3 separate regions of the Homo sapiens genome follow, and regions 2 and 3 are each linked to region 1. Evidence: promoter capture Hi-C in human tissues and cell types (Jung and others, 2019). All regions are on one chromosome and are shown on one strand. The core of a region is centred on a gene start or on the middle of the fragment in contact, and the rest is flanking DNA. Distances in the headings are between cores, read along the strand shown.

What was found. The method cuts DNA at HindIII sites, captures the fragments that hold promoters and counts their contacts. A contact is called where the count stands out against the background at its distance.
Region 2: a fragment that was not itself captured here is called in contact with the fragment with the promoter of CELSR1 in region 1 in 3 of the 25 tissues and cell types used here (liver, mesendoderm cells and stomach).
Region 3: a fragment that was not itself captured here is called in contact with the fragment with the promoter of CELSR1 in region 1 in 2 of the 25 tissues and cell types used here (small bowel and spleen).

The regions. Positions count from the first base shown.
Region 1 is chr22:46,535,685-46,539,525 of GRCh38, reverse strand. It overlaps CELSR1 (cadherin EGF LAG seven-pass G-type receptor 1), which reads left to right and starts at 1,906. Exons shown (of 35, transcript NM_001378328.1): 1 at 1,906-3,841. The coding sequence starts at 2,356. The HindIII fragment of the contact is 25,460 bases long and covers 1-3,841 here.
Region 2 is chr22:46,313,891-46,317,928 of GRCh38, reverse strand. GTSE1 (G2 and S-phase expressed 1) reads right to left here. Exons shown (of 12, transcript NM_016426.7): 6 at 3,916-4,038; 7 at 1,517-1,897. Among named protein-coding and RNA genes, the nearest start is that of GTSE1, 19 kb to the right of the region's middle. The HindIII fragment of the contact is 7,099 bases long and covers 1-4,038 here.
Region 3 is chr22:46,787,840-46,791,515 of GRCh38, reverse strand. The region is part of intron 1 of TBC1D22A (TBC1 domain family member 22A); the gene reads right to left. Among named protein-coding and RNA genes, the nearest start is that of TBC1D22A, 27 kb to the right of the region's middle. RefSeq lists enhancers at 1-25, 3,035-3,134. The HindIII fragment of the contact is 6,608 bases long and covers 1-3,676 here.

The DNA of each region.
Region 1 (3,841 bases), core at 657-3,156:
TACCTCGCAGCCTGCAGGTGCCTTATTCCAGAAAAGCAGGCCCACACCTGAACCCACTGGCTGCAGCTGAGTTTTGTTTATTTAAACCCAACCCACTCTGCTTAAAGCCTTATTGCAAAACAGGCACTCCTGGGGTTCTCTGGTTTTTCCTCCTGCCTGGGTCCCCTTCAGGTCCGCCCAGTAGCCTTCCACTGGGAGGCTCCGGGCTCAGGGACCCGCCCTGCCTTCCGGCCCCAGAACTCCTGTCCTTTCATCCTTCCCGGAAAAATCCCAGTGGAAGGGTATATGGCGGGTGGGGAGGTCCTGGACCGCTCACATTAAGGAGACGGACTTTTCTCCTTCCTCCCCTCCCTCCACACACACATTTCCCAACAGGACTCTCCAGTGGAAACCTCGAATTAAAAGGTTCCAAAGCAACTCCACCTTTTAGATCAATATAACGTGTTCAAATCCTTGCTACTGGGAAGAAAATGCTCACATTGGGCTTCAGCACAAAGACACTGTTTCAGCAGCTTTGAGCGAAGTTGGCTGAGTATGCGTGTGACACACACACAGACACATCGCTCCGGGGGAGAAACCCTTCCGGTTCTCCACAGCCGCCCACGGTCCTCGTTGAGACTGGACTCATCTCAGCTCAGCTCAGAGATTTGGCTGCAGGATCCGACCCTCCCTTGCCAAAAAGACCCGTTCTAGGGGTGACTGCGCATTACTCCCACCCCCACCGCTCCGACCGGCCCCAGGAGAAGCCCTTCTAGGAGAGAAGAGGCGACCCCCACCTACCGTCCCCGACCACTGGGAGGCCTAAGGGCTGCACTGGACTCCGGCGCCCCGAGCGCCACCAAGGGAGTGCGCGCCCTTCCCAGCCGCTGGTGGCACAGTCCCAAAGCCCCGCCCATGCGGGGGGTCGCCAAGTCCTAAGCCTCCACCCCCTTTATCCCTGTGCCCCATCCGGAGGCAGGTGTACCCGTCACGCAAACCTAAAGCTGCCCCCGGCCCCCCGTGGTTCCCCGCAGGAGGCGGGGGTGTGTGTCACTTTTCTGAAAGCTCTAAGGTCTCTGCCCCCCGCCCCCCGCTGTCCTCCGTAGGAGGCTGGGCAGGGGCTGTGGCACAGCTCTAAATCCCTGCGGGTGCTTGCTTGCCCCAGGCAGCTTCCAGGACCCGCAGCCCCCCGCCTTCCCCGCAACCCGCTTCGGGAGGAGCCGGACGCTCGGGGATTCCGCGATGCGTCCGCGAACGCTCGGGTCGGGCCGCACGCGGGAGATGAGCGCGCCTCCGCCGTCCTCTCCAAATCCCTTATGTCAACCGGGGTTTTCTTCTTTCATTTAAAAGTTGCGCTTTAAACCAAGTGGGACGCAGATCCGGTAGCTGCCTATTGGGCTTCAAAGTCCAGGGAGTTTTAGTCGGGGTGAAGCATTTTAGCCTCCGTGCGTCTTGCTGTAAAATGGGTAACCCTCCTCGACAGCCTCCGCAGTCCTTAATGGGTGGGGGGGGGCTCCCCGGCCTCTCGGCCCCAGTCCTCCGCCCCCGGGTCCTACCCGCGCGGCACTCCTGGCGGCGGTCTCCGTGGATCTGTTCTGCCGGGGTGGGGAGCCAGGCTCTGAGCCGCGGCCCCGAGCCCGAGGTGCGGAGCCACCGCCCCACGGGTAGCGGCCACCGGGGGCCCCAGCCCCACCTTTCCCGGCCCTGTTGCCTCGGCCCCGCCCCACCGGGAGGCTGGGTGGGGAGGCCTCCGGGGAGTAGGGCCCCAGTCCCCGTCCCGGCCGCGCCCTCGCGTCTCCATAGCGATCCTCTCGGCGCGCACCTCCGAGCCGGCTCCCCCCGGGGCCGAACAATACGCCGCTGGGCCGGGGGCGGGGCGGGGCCGGGCCGGGGGCGGGGAGAGCGCGGGCGGAGTGGGCGCGGGCCAAGCGCACCGCCCAGGCAGCAGCCGGCCGCCGGGGTCTGCGCGGCGCGGAGCTGCCCAGCCCGCTCCGGGAACTCAGCCCCCGCCCCGCGCCGGGCCCGCCCCGCTTCCCACGCCCGTCCGGCCGAGCCCGCGCCGGAGCCACCTGGAGCCGCCTGGAGCCGCCGCCGCCGCCGCAGGTTGATGCGCGGCGCCCTCCCGGGACGCGCGGAGGAGCCATCTTGAAACCAACTTCGCAAACTTTCGCAAAGTGCTCTCGAAGTGGAAGCTGCGGGGGAGGCCGGGCGCGTGGTCCCCACAGTCCCCGCCAGGGCCCCCGGGGAGGCGGGACGCGGACCGCCCCGAGGGCCGGGCGCCCGGGAGCCGCTCCCCGGCCTCGCCGGGTGGATGCGGAGGCGCGCCGGGTGCATGGATTGTGTTCGGGCGCCCGGCTCGGGCTCGGGCTCCGGGCCATGGCGCCGCCGCCGCCGCCCGTGCTGCCCGTGCTGCTGCTCCTGGCCGCCGCCGCCGCCCTGCCGGCGATGGGGCTGCGAGCGGCCGCCTGGGAGCCGCGCGTACCCGGCGGGACCCGCGCCTTCGCCCTCCGGCCCGGCTGTACCTACGCGGTGGGCGCCGCTTGCACGCCCCGGGCGCCGCGGGAGCTGCTGGACGTGGGCCGCGATGGGCGGCTGGCAGGACGTCGGCGCGTCTCGGGCGCGGGGCGCCCGCTGCCGCTGCAAGTCCGCTTGGTGGCCCGCAGTGCCCCGACGGCGCTGAGCCGCCGCCTGCGGGCGCGCACGCACCTTCCCGGCTGCGGAGCCCGTGCCCGGCTCTGCGGAACCGGTGCCCGGCTCTGCGGGGCGCTCTGCTTCCCCGTCCCCGGCGGCTGCGCGGCCGCGCAGCATTCGGCGCTCGCAGCTCCGACCACCTTACCCGCCTGCCGCTGCCCGCCGCGCCCCAGGCCCCGCTGTCCCGGCCGTCCCATCTGCCTGCCGCCGGGCGGCTCGGTCCGCCTGCGTCTGCTGTGCGCCCTGCGGCGCGCGGCTGGCGCCGTCCGGGTGGGACTGGCGCTGGAGGCCGCCACCGCGGGGACGCCCTCCGCGTCGCCATCCCCATCGCCGCCCCTGCCGCCGAACTTGCCCGAAGCCCGGGCGGGGCCGGCGCGACGGGCCCGGCGGGGCACGAGCGGCAGAGGGAGCCTGAAGTTTCCGATGCCCAACTACCAGGTGGCGTTGTTTGAGAACGAACCGGCGGGCACCCTCATCCTCCAGCTGCACGCGCACTACACCATCGAGGGCGAGGAGGAGCGCGTGAGCTATTACATGGAGGGGCTGTTCGACGAGCGCTCCCGGGGCTACTTCCGAATCGACTCTGCCACGGGCGCCGTGAGCACGGACAGCGTACTGGACCGCGAGACCAAGGAGACGCACGTCCTCAGGGTGAAAGCCGTGGACTACAGTACGCCGCCGCGCTCGGCCACCACCTACATCACTGTCTTGGTCAAAGACACCAACGACCACAGCCCGGTCTTCGAGCAGTCGGAGTACCGCGAGCGCGTGCGGGAGAACCTGGAGGTGGGCTACGAGGTGCTGACCATCCGCGCCAGCGACCGCGACTCGCCCATCAACGCCAACTTGCGTTACCGCGTGTTGGGGGGCGCGTGGGACGTCTTCCAGCTCAACGAGAGCTCTGGCGTGGTGAGCACACGGGCGGTGCTGGACCGGGAGGAGGCGGCCGAGTACCAGCTCCTGGTGGAGGCCAACGACCAGGGGCGCAATCCGGGCCCGCTCAGTGCCACGGCCACCGTGTACATCGAGGTGGAGGACGAGAACGACAACTACCCCCAGTTCAGCGAGCAGAACTACGTGGTCCAGGTGCCCGAGGACGTGGGGCTCAACACGGCTGTGCTGCGAGTGCAGGCCACGGACCGGGACCAGGGCCAGAACGCGGCCATTCACT
Region 2 (4,038 bases), core at 1,026-3,525, 220 kb after region 1:
AAGAGAAGAGCAACTACCAGGGAGCAACGAGCGGAGCTCACAGGGCCGAGAAACCGCCGTCTTACCAGGGAGCAACGAGCGGAGCTCACAGGGCCGAGAAGGTGTCATCTTGCAGCAGCAGGAGTGCAGGGGTCTCGCGGGCCTTGCGGGACACACGGGTGTGCAGCAGAGGCCTTGGGAAGGACGCCGGTGGCGGGAGGCGGAAAGGCTATGCTAGACCCACCACTTCAAAGCATAAAAAGCCTCGGAAGGATGATCTGCACCTTAACTGCCTGCCAAGCCCAACCCAACTCCTCAGAGAAAGACAACAAAATCCAGACATTCAAAAGTGTACACCTGACAATATCCAACAACCAAGAAAAACTTGTGAAAAATGTAGAGGCAGGAAAATGAGGCCAAAACCCGGAAACAAAATTAGTCAGTCGAAACAGACCCCAAAATGATGGGGAAGATGGTATGAGAAGAATCGTAGACCCTAAAACCATTATCAATTTGCTCACGAGGATGTAAAAGAAAACCCAAGTACCATGAGAAGAAATAAGGGGAAACTATTATGTTAGAAACAAAGTTAACTGGATGGGCTTCACAGCTGTTAGGCACTGCAGAAGAAATGATATCTGACAACAGAAACTACCCAAACTGTAGCTCAAGGAAAAAGGCTGGGCCGGGCACGGTGGCTCACACCTATAATCCCAGCAGTTTGAGAGGCCGAGATGGGTGGGTCACTTGAGGTCAGGAGTTCCAGACCAGCCTGGCCAACATGGCGAAACCCCGTCTCTACCAAAAATACAAAAAAAAAATTAGCCGGGTGTGGTGGTGGGCACCTGTAATCCCAGCTACTCGGGAGGCTGAGGCAGGAGAATTGCTTGAACTCGGTAGGTGGAGGTTACAGTGCGCTGAGATCGCGCCACTGCATTCCACCCTGGGTGACAGAGCGAGACTCCGTCTCAAAAAACAAAAAACAAAAAAAAAGAAAGAAAGAAAAGAAAAAAGATAAGAAAAAGAAAAAAGGCTGAAATAAAAAAAAGAACAGAGCTTCGGTGTCCTGTGAGACAACGTCAAGAGGCCTGAAATAGATGTGATTAGAGTCCTAGGAAATAAAGTGGAAAGAGGAAAAGATAGCTGAAGAAATAATGGCCAACGTTTTCCAAATTTGCTGAAAAAAACCAACCCACAGATCAAAGAAGCTTAAGAAACCCTCAGCGGGATAAAGGCAAAGAAAGCCACCTCAAAGCACATAATAATCAAATTCCCGACAGTAACACTAAAGAGAAAACCTTACAAGCAGCCTACGAGCATTGGGGTGTCACACACACAGGAACGAACGTAAGACATTCAGGGAGCCTCCAGTGACCCCCCAAAACAACGTGGGCGAGAAGACAGCGGGTCACACCTGAAAGCACTGTTGGAGGAAAGAACTAAAAACACCATCAATGCCATCAATAATTGTTTAAAACTTTAAATGCAATTTCTTCAGTATTTTTTAAAGACACATTAAAATGTATCTATTACTCACCAATAGAAAACTTAGGAATTTTAAATTGATTTGTAGGAGTAGGCATAACCTTTGTCTTGGAATTTAGACAGGAATCTCGCCGTCTGATACTTCTAGTCTTATTCAATTGAGAAGATTCTGACCAAGCGCAACTGGAGTTCAGCCACTGGCCGCCACCTTCCGGAGTCTGGGGTTGGGTGGGGGATGCTGAGGGGGGTGCCGTGAGCTGCTCCGCTGCCAGCTCAGAAACATCGACCCGCTTGGCCTGCCAGGAGGATGCCCCCACAGGGCCTGCAGGCAGAGCTGGCCGCAGCATGGCGGGTCCCATTCTGCCTGACTTGCTGATGTTTGACAGAGGCCGGGAGCTATTTGCAGGAATACTTGCAAATTCACTTGATTTAGCTAGAAGGTATACACACAAAAATCACATTATTATAAAAGTATGAAGCTATTTAACAAACACACAGAAGTTATGCTGTCTTTAGCATATCTACCTTAAACATAAGACACATTAACAATATTCTATAAGCCCTTCAGGCAACATCATCAAACACAGGATGGCTCAGGCAGCTTTTAGCTTAGCTGAGTGTATTCTAAGGTACTTATTCTCAAAATAATTACTAACATGTACATAAGCATGCATAAATTCAAGCTCTCCTATCTTCGTTGATTATGTTGGCAGGAGAAATCTACATTAGTTGAGCAGATGGAAGGGGATAGTCTAGTCACATGTCTCACCTGTCTGGTCACAGAGGTGGGCAGGGAACAAGGAAAAAAGACGCAATTGTTACTGGTTGATTCCTTTAAAATTACAAGGAGGCTGCGTCATATTAACCATAAGCACTATTTAAAATAGAAGACCAGATAAACTAGGGTAATACATACTGAGCTACCAATATACGCAGACGATCTGGTAAAGGATTCTTAAAGAAAAACTTTAGCCCAGGAGTGGTGGCTCACGCCTGTAATCCAAACACTTTGGGAGGCCAAGGCAAGAGATCACTCAAGGCCAGGAGTTCGAGACCAGCCTGGCTAATATAGTGAGACCATCCTCTCTACAAAAAACACAAAAATGTGGGCCAGGCGCAGTGGCTCGTGCCTGTAATCCTAGCACTTTGGGAGGCCAAGGCGGGCGGATCACGAGGTCAAGAGATCGAGACCATCCTAGCCAACATGGTGAAACCCCGTCACTACTAAAAATACAAAAATTAGCCGGGCGTGGTGGCAGGTGCCTGTAGTCCCAGCTACTTGGGAGGCTGAGGCAGGAGAATCACTCGAACCCGGGAGGCAGAGGTTGTAGTGAGCCAAGATTGCGCCACTGCACTCCAACCTGGCAATAGAGTGAGACTCCATCTCAAAAAAAAAAAACCCACAAAAATTAGCCGGGTGTGGTGGCATGTGCCTGTAGTCCCAGCTACTCAGGAGGCTGAGGTGGGAGGATTGCTTGATCTCAGGAGGTCATCACCTCAGTCTATAAAGATAAGGACACAAACCTCTCTTAATCACAGAATGGCAGAGTCAGAATTCCAGATCAGATCAATCTGATTAGAGAGTTCACACTTATCATTTTTTTTTTTTTTTTTGAGACGGAGTGCAGTGATGCAATCTCGGCTCATGGTAACCTCTGCCTCCCGCGTTCAAGCCATTCTCGTGGCCCAGTCTCCCGAGTAGCTGGGACTACAGGCACCCGCCACCATGCCCGGCTAGTTTTTGTGTTTTTAGTAGAGACAGGGTTTCACCATGTTGGCCAGGCTGGTCTCAAACTCCAGGGGTCAAGCGATCCACCCATCTTGGCCTGCCAAAGTGCTGGGATCACAGGCGTGAGCCCCTGCGCCCGGCCCACTTTTTACATTTTGTGAACACAATCCACACCATGCTGCCCTGAACGACCCCGAGACGCCACATGGCCAATGCACCTCGAAGAGGATTTCGCTCTGAAGAGCAGAAAGGCGAAGGCTTTCCCTTACCACTAGATGGCAGCTGTGGCTTGGCAAGGTTGAAATGTGGCTTGACCTCAAACAGGTGTGGGAGCATGGATTTAAACAGGCACCCAGGAGTTATGGGGCCATATGCCCTACATTATCTGGAATAGTCCTATTTTAAAACTGGTGTCTCATGACATGGACATGAGGGTGATTCCAGTGTCCATGTTCTCAGGCACGGGGTATCATACATGCTTTCTGGCCATGTGTACCCCGTAGACTGAAGCCACCCATCTGAGTGTGCCCTCCTCATGGGACAGAGGCACTGAGGGCAGGTACAGCAACTCAGTCCACAGCCTGGTCCACCGCACACAGCACGCCCTCCGGGACGTCCTGCCAAGCCTAAGTGGTTCTGCAGAAACAGTCTCCAAGGCCTGAGCAGCACTCCAGGCCTCACCTGGCCAGATGTGGGTCCAAGCATGATGCCGGCTGCCTCACCTTTGCCCACTGCTGGGGATGTGCACGCACTGGATGCCCCGCTCCAAACAGGCCCCGAGGAGGACTTCCTTGCGAGATTGCTGGTAGAGCCGGGTGCTTTTAACAGGGTCTTCTTCAGCCCCA
Region 3 (3,676 bases), core at 344-2,843, 250 kb before region 1:
CCCTTTGGCCCCCAGCTTCTTTCCCTTTTTTCCACCTGGAACACAGAGGTGAGGCCTCAGCCATCGTGCGTGAGTGAAGATGCCACCATGAAGGGCAGCAGGGCAGACAGGCAGGAAACAGCATGGGGCTGTGACAGCTTTGAGCTGCTGCCCAACCCTGCGCTGCTCACCACAGACTACCAGACACAGGAAATAAACGAATCTCTGTTTGTTGAAGGCAATACTGGCAATGTTGGGAGGCCGAGGTGGGCGGATCGCTTGAGCTCAGGAGTTTAGGACCAGCCTGGGCAACATGGCGAAACCACGTCTGCACAAAAAAATACAAAAAAATTGGCTGGGCGTGGTGACATAAGCCTGTGGTCCCAGCTACTTGGGAGGCTGAGGTTGCAGTGAGCCAAGATTGCACCACTGAACTCCAACCTGGGTTACACAGTGAGACCCTGTCTCAAAAAAATAAAATAAGTGATTACAAAAAAATGGCCGGATGATCGCTTGAGCCTGGGAGGTGGAGGTTGCAGTGAGCCAAGAATGCACCACTGCACTCCAATCTGGGTTACAGAGTAAGACCCTGTCTCTAAAAAATAAAATAATATAGTGATTACAAAAAAAGTAATAAAGATATTTGGAGACAAATATTTGCACACAACTATGATAACCTCTTGGGGATAAACTCCTAGAAATGGAAAGCTTGGGACATAAAGCACACATTAAAAAGGCCACTGGTCCACACTGCTGAAGAGCCGTGGTTCATATCCCACCAGCAGTGTCAACACCACACACCACTGCTCATTCAACAAGAGAACAGTGGTCTCCGTGTCGGCTATGTGCCTCTTCATTCATTAGTAAGGTAAAACTTTTTTTTTTTATTTTGTTCATTTGTACCTCTTCTTTTTGTAAATTGTCTGCTCATACCCTTTGTCCATTTTCTAATGAGGTGCTCACCACTTTCTCACTGCTTTGTAAAAAAAAACCTTGTAAACAGAGGATTCCTTCTTAGTCGTTCTGGTGGTGTGGTCAGCAGAATAACGGCCCCCACCCAAGACGTCCACATCCTAATGCCCAGAACCTGTGACTACGTCACCTTACATGGCAAAGGGGACTTTGCAGATGCAATTAAGAATACGAATGAGGTGGGAGACCATCCTGGGCAATCCGGATGGGCACAATCTAATCATGAGTACTCAAAAGCAGAGAACCTTCCTGGCTGTGGTCAGAGCAGAAGAGACCGCGGAAGGTCACACAAATGCAACATGGCTGACTCTGTACGTGGAGAAAGGGGGCTGTATGCCAAGGAACGTGGGCGGCTTCCTGGAGCTGGAGAGAGCAGGGAAAACGCTCTCCCCTGGAGCTTCCAGAAGGAACCAGCCCCGCCAACACCTTGGTGTTAGCCCAGCGAGACCCACATCAGACTTGCAAATTCTAGAACTCTAGGATACCATGTTTGCTGTAAGCCAGTAAGTTTGTGATGATTTGCTAGAGCAGTCACAGAAAGACAATGGCGGTGGCCAATCTGTTTTCCTTGGTCTGGGAGGCTGAGCCACTCTTGTGTCCTTTCCTCGTGACTCCACTTTGGGGACGACACTTGGAAAGGCCTGACCCTTCTGAGAGTGCATAAACATTGCCGTGTGCTAGTTCAATCCTTCTAGAGGGCTCGTTCCTACCCTTAAGTTTTCAATCCACCTAGAATTTATTTTATTTTGCTATATAGTGTTTAGTAGGAAACTTTAAAAAAAAATAAAGAAGGGTTCAAATGTCATTTATTCAGTAACCTCTCCTTTCACCCACTGCTTTGAGAACATCATCTTTAACGTTAAAATATTACATTGGGTCATTTTTCAGTTTCCCACTCAGTTTCTATTCAGTATCCCATTCCTATGCCTGCAGCACAACATATTAATTATACCAAATGTTCACTTTTATATTCTAAGATTTTTCAGCAAAACTTGACAAACATTTTTTTGATACTGACTCTCGGACAGGGCACTGGGGAGGCAAAGGTAAGCACAACACATCCAAACTATTCCGGCCCTTACAGTTTACTCACAAAAGCAAAACTTCAACTGGCATTTTGACTGTTCTATGATGATTCCTACAAGAGCATGTCACAGGAGCACAGAAACCCAGTCTTATCGGGAGGCCGAGGCGGGCGGATCACGAGGTCAGGAGATCGAGACCATCCTGGATAACACAGTGAAACCCCGTCTCTATGAAAAATACAAAAAATTAGCCGGGCTTGGTGGCACGTGCCTGTAATCCCAGCTACTTGGGAAGCTGAGGCAGGAGAATGGCGTGAACCCAGGAGGCAGAGCTTGTAGTGAGCCGAGATTGCGCCACTGCACTCCAGCCTAGGCGACAGCGAGACTCTGTCTCAAAAAAAAAAAAAAAAGAAAAGAAGGAAGATTCCTTAAGAAAAAAAATCACACTTAGAACTAGGAAAAGTGGCTGGCAGAAGGTTGAGACAAACAAAACAGCACGTACCTGATCTGAAGGCCAGGAGCAGTGGAATCAGTGGGACATCAAAGTGGCAGCCAAGGGCCTGTCACCACAGCAAGCAGAAACATGAGCCCACACCCGGCCTTCCTTCAAAGGCCCAGGAGCCCAGTCCCACCCCTCACTCCACAGAGGAAGATTGGAAACCCAGAGAAGAGAAAGGAATTCAAAAGAGTCTGGCCCCTTGAAGGGTTTGTTATGACTTCTCCTTCCCAAAAAAAAGCCAATAAGGAGAAATATATGATTTCAGAAGAAAATTCTAAAGTCAGCATCCAGATGAAAACATCACATTTATTTCTGCATACATCAGAGTGAGTTTCAGTTTCAAACTGAAGATGACCTGAAAGCAAAGCGCTGATCCCTCCTCTCAACCAGGAAGGACCTACGAGGCAGGCACTGTCCTGGGTGCTGAGGACACAGACGCCCTGTGGCATGAACCACAGGCGGGTCCCAGTGGGGCTGGTGCTGGATACTTTTACCAAAGGAATGAAACACACAGAAAAGTGAAGGAACAGCCCTGTGACCACCATGCCACGTGCCACTGCTCAGCTCCAACCACTTTCAACAGCCTCCAGATTTGCTCAACATGCCGTTTCTTTTTTACTATCAATACTGCAAGCAATAAAGCATAGAGAATAATAGTAGTAGCTAACAGAGATGAGCATTATTTTAAACTCTCAATGTGTTAAGTCCTTTAATCTTTGCAACCCAATAAGGCAGATATCATTACTCTTCCCATTCAAAAGGTGGAAAAACTGAGGGACAGAAAGCTTAAGAAAGTAGCCTGCCTGGCCGGGCGTGGTGGCTCACGCCTGTAATCCCAGCACTTTGGGAGGCCGAGGCGGGTGGATCACGAGGTCTGGAGATCGAGACCGTCCTGGCTAACACAGTGAAACCCCGTCTCTACTAAAAATACAAAAAATTACCCGGTCGTGGTGGCGGACGCCTATAGTCCCAGCTACTTAGGAGGCTGAGGCAAGAGAATGGTGTGAACCCGGGAGGCAGAGCTTGCAGTGAGCCGAGATCACGCCCCTGCACTCCAACCTGGGTGACAGAGTAAGACTCCGTCCCAAAAAAAAAAAAAAAAAAAAAAGTAGCCTGCCCAAAGTCACCTACCCCTGGCAGGCTGCAGCCAGCTTAGTGACATATAGGACATAAGGAATAACCACACAGACACCACCCAGAG